2 separate regions of the Homo sapiens genome follow, and region 2 is linked to region 1. The links are contacts of gene promoters, found by promoter capture Hi-C in human tissues and cell types (Jung and others, 2019). All regions are on one chromosome and are shown on one strand. Each heading gives the region's core, a stretch centred on a gene start or on the middle of the fragment in contact. The rest is flanking DNA. Distances are from core to core; before and after follow the strand shown. Region 1 holds the start of ZNF703 (zinc finger protein 703). Region 2 overlaps LINC01605 (long intergenic non-protein coding RNA 1605).

Region 1 (4,093 bases), core at 1,162-3,661:
CTTGCATGCTTTCAGAGGTGTGTCCTACCACTTCCCAGGAGGTGGGAGCAGGCCAATCTGTGTGCCCGTCAGTAATTACCACTGGGAGCTCAGGGAGTGAGGTGTTTTTAACAGGACAGTATAGTATTACCTAGGCAAATCCCCCATCACATCCTGCCAGTCTGTCCTTACCTCCTCTTCTCTCCCTTCCTTTCCTTCATTCACTACCTTTTTCCTTCTCTTTTCCTCTCCAAACAGAGAGTGAATATTCTATTGTCCTCTCTCTTCTCCCCTCTCTCCTTTCAGCTGCCTCCTGCTCTGTTTTCCAAATTCCTAAATACCTCTTCCCTCTCCCCTCCCCTTTTCCTCCTGACTTATTTCCCATTAATCATTTCTAACACACATCTGCTCAGGCCCTAGAAGGATCCCTTGGCTCCCTCTCACAGCTGGGCTGGTTACAATAATCAGGGAGACTTTCATCTTTCATAGCCTCCTAGGTCTCCCCTCTGCCCAGCTCCTCCTCCTCTGCGTTCCTGCAAAGGCCAGCCTCTCTGCACCCTGGCTTCCTTCTGCCCTTCCCGCTCTACACAGCAGTCTCCCGAAGGCAAAATGGCTTGTGGGTGGACACAGCCCTGCAGTGGACTTTTACAGGTGGTGTTTGCAGTGATGGCAATGGCTGCCCGCACAGAAGTCGGCATGAGAAGCCTGCCACGATGAAATAAATGAGATCACTCCCTCCCTTTTCATTCCCGCACCCCTCTTGCTGCAATGTGGGATCCATCTCACAGTCAGGGTACCCCTTTCCATTCGGCGTAACATGATTTTACCAAGATTAAAATTGGGGAACATGTAATTACAGCTTGTGTAATTTCTAAGCATTCTATAAGTGCTGCCCAAAATACAGTATGGATCCAGGGAGTGCACTTAGTTTTGGGTATGACTGATACTGCCTGGAAGTGGGGTCTGCTGTCTTCTACTACTGGGCAAGATACAGATTCGTGATAGCTATTTCTTTCTGTTTGAAGAGCTCCTTTGAAATCACCTCTCCCCATCTTGGGTTCTCAGGTCATCTCAAGGCGTCGGTCAGCGCGGCAGAGTCGGGAACCTGCCATCCTAGAGCAATACGCCCCGAGTGACAGCCCTGACAACCGGAGTGATGGATCGGGACTGGAAAAGTGGTGCTGGGAGCCAGGCAGTGACACCAGCGCGCCTCCACTGGCCGCCGAGCGCACGGAGAAGTGGGCTCCCCAGAGTTCGGCACCCAAAGGACCAACTTCGCCTCCGGAAAAGCGGCGGATCCGGAACTTGGATGTCAGGACTATGACTACGTAAAATCTCTGCCCAGGGCGAAGCTAGCAATGCACACTGTATCAGAAAGGCGCAGGGAGTCGGGAAGGGTATTGTTATTTTTAATTAAAAGTTTTTATCCCGAAATTTGCCTGGGGAAAGCAAGTGCTTTTTCCCCCGGAGTGAGAAGGATGGGGGGGCGGAGGGGTTGTGTTGCCGAGCAGCGCTTAGAGAGAGATCCCCCTCCAGGGACACCCGCCTCGCCCGTGATCTCGGTCTCTCCTCGTAGCAGCTGGGCGCGGTACAGTGAGGAACTTCACGCCCCTCAGCAGGACACGGTAAGAAGCCTGTAACACACCAGACACCGAGCCTCTAACGCAGGGCGCAGGCACAGCGCGCACAGCCTGGGGTCCCGCGCTTGGTCGCCGACCATGTCACTCCAGAAGGGAGACAAACTTGCAGGCTTCAGACAAGACGGGCTCAAAGTAGTTGGAGCTGCCTACGCCGCGTCCCGAGAACAGTGGGTGCCTCCGAGGCTCGGGCGCTTCCAAGTGAACACACCAAGGGGAGGCCAAGTAGGGGAAGGAGAGCGGGGCCGAGGAGAGCCGGAGCAGCTCTGGAGAAGGACCCGGGCTCCCGAGGCGAGGCCTGCCCCCAGGCGGCCTCTGGGAGAGGCTTGAACTCCAGCGTCCCAGAGCCCGCGCCGTGCGATCCCTCCCACCCCACCCCACCCCACCCCACCCCACCTCGGACACACACGGCGGGCGGGGTTACAGCCCCCGCCAGCATCACCCCCCACCCACCCAGTGGTGAGAAGGGAGAGAGGAGAGAGAGCGGCCGGAAAGGAGGACGGGGCGCAGAGCTCAGGGTCCCGGAGAAGTCCCGTCCCAGGCGGGGGACCCCAGGGCGAGGAAGGCCCAGTCGGGGGGAGGGGAGGAATCCCGGGAGCGGCCGAGACCGAGGCAGCGGCGGCGCGCGGCGCGGCCCCTTTAAGGCTCTCCCCGCCCACCGATGGAGCCGGCCTCAGCCCGCCGCTCTCCCCGCCCCGGGGTCCCGGCGAGAGCTGCGATTGGGCGGGCGCGGCGATCCCTTTGAAGTGTGGCTGCCGATCGCGGCTATTTGACGTGCGGCTCGAGGAAGGCGAAGGTTTTTGTGTTGCTAGCCGGGGCCAGCGGCGGTGGCGGCGGCGGCGGAGGCGTCGGTGGAGGAGGGGAGGCGGCGAGGAGGCGCAGCTCCCGCTGCACCGCGATCGACGCTGCGGAGCGAGCCCACCCGCCCCGGGAGCTCGCCTCCCCGGTGCTCCCCCGCCCTCCCCGCCCCCCCAGCGGCGCTGCCTCCTCCAAATGAGCGATTCGCCCGCTGGATCTAACCCAAGGACACCCGAAAGCAGCGGCAGCGGCAGCGGCGGCGGCGGGAAGAGGCCGGCGGTGCCGGCAGCGGTGTCCCTCTTGCCACCGGCGGACCCCCTGCGCCAGGCGAACCGGCTCCCGATCAGGGTCCTGAAGATGCTGAGCGCTCACACCGGTCACCTCCTGCACCCGGAGTACCTGCAGCCGCTGTCCTCCACTCCCGTCAGCCCCATTGAGGTCAGTCCCCGGCCGCTGCCCCCGGGCGCCGGCCCCATTCCTCCCACCGCGACCGGGACCCTGACCCAGCTCCCAGCGCCCCGGGGCTCGGTGCGACACCCAAGTCTGGTCACGCTGGCGGGCTGAGTGAGGAGGGGAAGAAAACCGAGGGATCAGAGCCCACCAGGGCTTCCCCAGGCTTCCCCGTGGAAGGGTCTCCTTCCACGCTCGCCCTTCGGAGCTCCGTGTTTTCTCTCGGATTGGATTTGCTCCTGGAGTCCCCTCTGGGTCCTTTACTTTTCCTCTGATCCCCAGTTTCCAGCCAGGAGTTGGTCTCTGCTGGGTCTTCCCCGCCCCCCACGCCGGGCTGTTTTCTTTGAAGCCCTGGCTGCCCGGGTCCCACTTCGCCTCTGTCCCATCCGGTGAGGGCGCACGGCGCCCTGGCGCTCCCGATCCCGGATCTTTCTTCCTGCCTCTTCCCTGGGTGCCCTCCCCGGGAGGGAGGGGCTACGGAGAGAGCGCCAACTGCAGCCCCTCCTTTAGAATCCGCGCTCCCCTCTCCTACCCCGCGGCGCCATCGCCAGAAACCCGTCCCAAGCGAAGTTCCCCCAAACTAAAGGAATAAGTTTTTTCCTGGGCCTGGAGGAGGGGGACATTAGAGGGAAGTGGCGAGTCACAGCCCCGACTCCAGAGACGTCACCTTCTCCCGCAGGGGTCCTGGGTGAACTCCTTCCGCAGGGCCTGCGGCGCACCCCGGGACCCAGCGGCAGTGTGGGCGCAGTTCCGCCAGCTGCCGCGCCCGGCCCGGCCCTCGCTCGCAGACCCTCTCCCCAGGCCCGCCCCGCCCCGTGGCGCCGCCGCCCAGCTCCCCGGGCGCCCCCGCTCGCCCCGCAGGCCTCTGAGTCTCACTCCTTCTCCCTCCCCCTGCTTCTGTCTCCCACAGCTGGACGCCAAGAAGAGCCCCTTGGCGCTGCTGGCTCAGACCTGCTCGCAGATCGGCAAGCCGGACCCGCCGCCCTCCTCCAAACTCAACTCGGTGGCGGCGGCGGCCAACGGGCTGGGAGCGGAGAAGGACCCCGGCCGCTCAGCCCCGGGCGCCGCCTCCGCAGCCGCGGCCCTGAAGCAGCTGGGGGACTCACCGGCCGAGGACAAGTCCAGCTTCAAGCCCTACTCCAAGGGCTCCGGCGGCGGCGACTCCCGCAAAGACAGCGGCTCCTCCTCGGTGTCTTCCACCTCCTCCTCGTCCTCCTCGTCCCCGGGAG
Region 2 (3,795 bases), core at 814-3,313, 260 kb before region 1:
GACTAGTGAACTCAGTCAGCTACTGGTGTTCACTGGAGGAGGTGTTCATTGCAGGGGGAGAGGGAGAGTCTTGTCCCTCAACTAGGCAATAAGCTCTTTGAGAACAAAGGCAGTGTCTAAGCTTCTCTTTATCTCTCACTACCTCTTTCCTAGCACCGAAGTCATAAAATGCACTCAAACAACAGCCACTGAAGAAAGGATGGCATGAGAAGAATTCTAAATTCTCATTAACAGACCTTGAGAACCTGGATCTTGAGTCTTTCAGTTGTATCCAGCCATGCATACCTTTCCTACTTAAGCCATTTCTTAAGCCTGTTCAAATTGCTTCCTGCTACTTTTTAGCCATACAGTTCTCATTAAGAAATGTGTATCCAAGACTCAAGGCAGCTCAAATTCAAGCCTCAACAAAAATGACAAATTATATCACACACCATGCACCTTCAAAGTTGTTCACAAACAATAAATTTGTGAATGGCAAAGATGTACTGGGTTGAATTAGGTACTCAAGGCCCACAATTAGATCTCTGCATGGTCAAAACTGGGATCTAAGTCTCTTGACACTCCAGGGTTCTTCTCACTCCCCGACATGCTCAGGGATGTTGCTATATAGAGGTTATAAGGTTATCTTCTCTGCTGGAACCTCATAAAGAGGCTCCTGATAACATAGAAAGAGTTTACACAGAACATGGTGGGAAGAGGCTGTTGTCCTAAAACACCAAATTGGTGGGAACTGAAAAGAAGAAGGTGAGTGTGAACTTGAGGTGGAGGAAGATCTAAAAATTCTTACCATGGCCCACTCCAAGGAGAAAGTGGGAATTATTCTCTGCTAACTCTAGATGTCCATGTGGTCCTAATGACCAGATTATCCATTAAACAATACCTTTTGCCAATAGATAGCTGGAAACCATGGCATTCGATGAAAATTTATTGAGTGTCTACTATGTGTCAGGCATTGTCCTAGGTACTAGGGTCATATCAGTAAACAAAACAGACAAAATCTGCCCTTATAGGGTTTACATTCTAGTAAGGAGATACTTGACAATGAAGTAAACAGGTCAAATGTGTGTTTTTTATTTGCTTGTTTGTTTTCTATTTTTTTGGTTTTTTTTTTTTTGAGACAGAGTCTCATTCTGTCACCCATGCTGGAGTGCAGTGGTGTGATCTTGGCTCACTGCAATCTCCGCCTCCTGGGTTCAAGTGATTCTCCTGCCTCAGACTCCCAGGTAGCTGGGATTACAGGTGTGCACCACTTCGCCTGGCTAATTTTTGTGTTTTTAGTAGAGACAAGGTTTCACCATGTTGGCCAGGCTGGTCTTGAACTCCTCAGGTGATTCACCCACCTCAGCCTCCCAAAGTGCTGGGATTATAGGAGTGAACCACCGCACCCAGCCCAAATGTGTTTTATATCAAAAGTTGATACATGCTATGGAGAAGAATATGGAAGAAAGGACATTAGGAGTGTTAGGAGGTCAGGGTAGACAAATAAGCCTTCCTTAATAAGACAATACTTGAGCACAGGCTGAAATAAAAGAAACAATAAAGAACAAATGCAAAGCAAGTTTCCAGTAGCTCCTAGACGGCCCTCCAGGCCTGATTTGTTGAGCTTTTCCTTAAACCAAGAAGATAACAAAAATGAAGAGCTGGCAAGGCTCTCTACCAAGGCAAAGTCACAGGACTGGCAGAACCTGGCATTAGCAGGCTAAAATGGTAGCTAACAAATCCTGCCTCTCAGGAAGGATAAAGGCCTCCAGGGCCAGAACTCCCCACTTTTATAGCAGAACTTTAAATTCCTTTGCTTCTTTCTTTCTCATATAGATATCACACACTACATAACACACACACACACACACCAGTTTTTAATGGAATAACTGACAACAAAACACTTCCTCACTCCTTTTGGAAGCTTGGAGGCAAACTCTTAGAATGTCTATGATTTCACCAAGTTACTCATGGGATAAATCTATCAAAGCCAAAGAAATTGGTTGGAAAGTGAAGGTTTGAACATAAGCAGTATAACACTCTCTTCTACTGAAACAAAAGGTTAAAAAAATAGTCCCATCAAATTAGCTAGCCATTCTCAGAGTTAAGTCTGTTTCTGGAAGTAAGCCAGATCCCTGTGATGCCCTTAGGAAGTTCGAGACACTAATGTGACTGTGATATCTCACCTCTCATTCATCCTCTGAATCAACATGGGCCTCCTCTTGTATGTTCTATGGAAAAAGCAAGGGGTTTTGGGGTTAGATATGGGTTCTGGGTTCAAATTATCCCAGCTCCGTGTTTTACAGAAACTTGCTTTTTGGCTTAATTTTCTTATTTTTTCTTTCTTCACTCACAATCTCCCCCACCTAGTGCATATCCCCAAGAAAAGATCTGTTTTTCTTGAATGTATTATTGTATTAACCTCCTCATGAGACCTCCAAGGGACATTCTGGAGTAACAGTGGACGGGCCCACACTGTTTTATAAGAGCTTTCTGTTCCTCTGTCTACCCTTCCTTTACACAGCTTTTAAAACCCTGTCCTCCCACGAAATTCAGCTCTGCCTCAACTTGTATAGCATGTTCAGCAAAACAGAAGACTCAATAATTCTACTTCCATATCCTAGCTAATGATGTCCACTCTCCAGGCCATCTCAGGATCCAAGACAGCTGTGGAGCTCAAGCCATCACATCTGTATTCTAGGCCAGGAAGAGAAGAGGCAGCAAGACAAGAAGAGTGCCTCCAAGCTGACCCACCTCCCTTCAAGAAGCCTGCCCAGAAGCCCCACACAATATTTCCACTTACCTCTCACTGGCTAACACTTAGTAACAAGACCACACATGGCTGCAAGAGAGACAACAAAAGTGCCTTGTAAAACATGAGGACCTGTTATTACAAAGGAAGGCAAGAACAGATGTTTGGGTGGGCCACAAATGATCTCTACCAAAAGAGTATAACAAAGAGAACAGGCATGGACATGGGAGGTCATCCAGATGTGGATCCCACACAGAATGAGGATCTCACCCCCTCCTGCTCTCATGGCTTTTCACCTTTGCCCATGCCCACCACCAGCCTGGAGGCTCTTCTGCCCTTCTTTATACTTTTTTTTAAGATGCAACTAATATGACAACTCCAGGAAATCATCCTTCACCATCACCCAGTGCCCTACCCCTCAAACCTCTGTGTTTTTGCATATTATTGTGCTTTTCTCACTTCTTATAATTAGGTCTTTACTGATTTATCAGAATAAGATCCAGAATAAGAATACATCCTTGCACTTTATTAAGTGCTACTCATTTATTCCTATTATTTCTCTTTTTTTCCTTTGTCTTTCTTACTGTCACTTTTCCATATTTTTCTTTCTCTCATTCCCTCACCTGTTCATTGGACCTAACAGGAACATTTAAGGTAGGTCACCATTCAGCTCCACTGATGGTCTATAAAGTCAAAGAGGATTCTGATCTTGAATCTATTATATTAAAGGTTCAAAGTTAAATGGGTCGTTTAGGTCCATTACACCTAAAAAGTCAATACCGCTCCAAGCTGTCTTAAGATACTCTTAGGAAATAGTTAATGCTCTAGGAGAATCTGGTCCAAATTAAGCCATTTCAGTGTCCTTGACCCTAAGAAATGACAGAGCTCCCCTTATAGAATACCATGACAAAGAGTGTGGCAAGGCACAAAAACATCTTTTGCAGGGTGTGTGTAGATTTATGTGAGTTGTGTGAGTTCTCGAGTTACATTAAGATAGCTTTTCCTAACCGAGTCTTCGAGATCACACCCCCATGGTTGGGGAAGATTGAGGAACTGGGAAGACC

The links. Contacts are between HindIII fragments. The study calls those that stand out against the background at their distance.
Region 2: a contact is called between a fragment that was not itself captured here and the fragment with the promoter of ZNF703 in region 1, in 4 of the 25 tissues and cell types used here (IMR-90 fibroblasts, liver, mesendoderm cells and 1 more).

Annotation. Positions count from the first base shown.
Region 1 is chr8:37,693,371-37,697,463 of GRCh38, forward strand. It overlaps ZNF703 (zinc finger protein 703), which reads left to right and starts at 2,412. Exons shown (of 2, transcript NM_025069.3): 1 at 2,412-2,852; 2 at 3,775-4,093. The coding sequence starts at 2,610. LOC124901932 (a long non-coding RNA gene) reads left to right here and starts at 560. Exons shown (of 2, transcript XR_007060887.1): 1 at 560-630; 2 at 1,045-1,413. LOC124901933 (a long non-coding RNA gene) reads right to left here and starts at 2,311. Exons shown (of 2, transcript XR_007060888.1): 1 at 2,070-2,311; 2 at 1,375-1,613. RefSeq lists silencers at 1,051-1,235, 2,023-2,372, 2,423-2,522 and enhancers at 2,257-2,800, 2,801-3,343. The HindIII fragment of the contact is 17,905 bases long and covers 1-4,093 here.
Region 2 is chr8:37,428,967-37,432,761 of GRCh38, forward strand. The region is part of intron 3 of LINC01605 (long intergenic non-protein coding RNA 1605); the gene reads right to left. Among named protein-coding and RNA genes, the nearest start is that of LINC01605, 170 kb to the right of the region's middle. The HindIII fragment of the contact is 4,324 bases long and covers 1-3,795 here.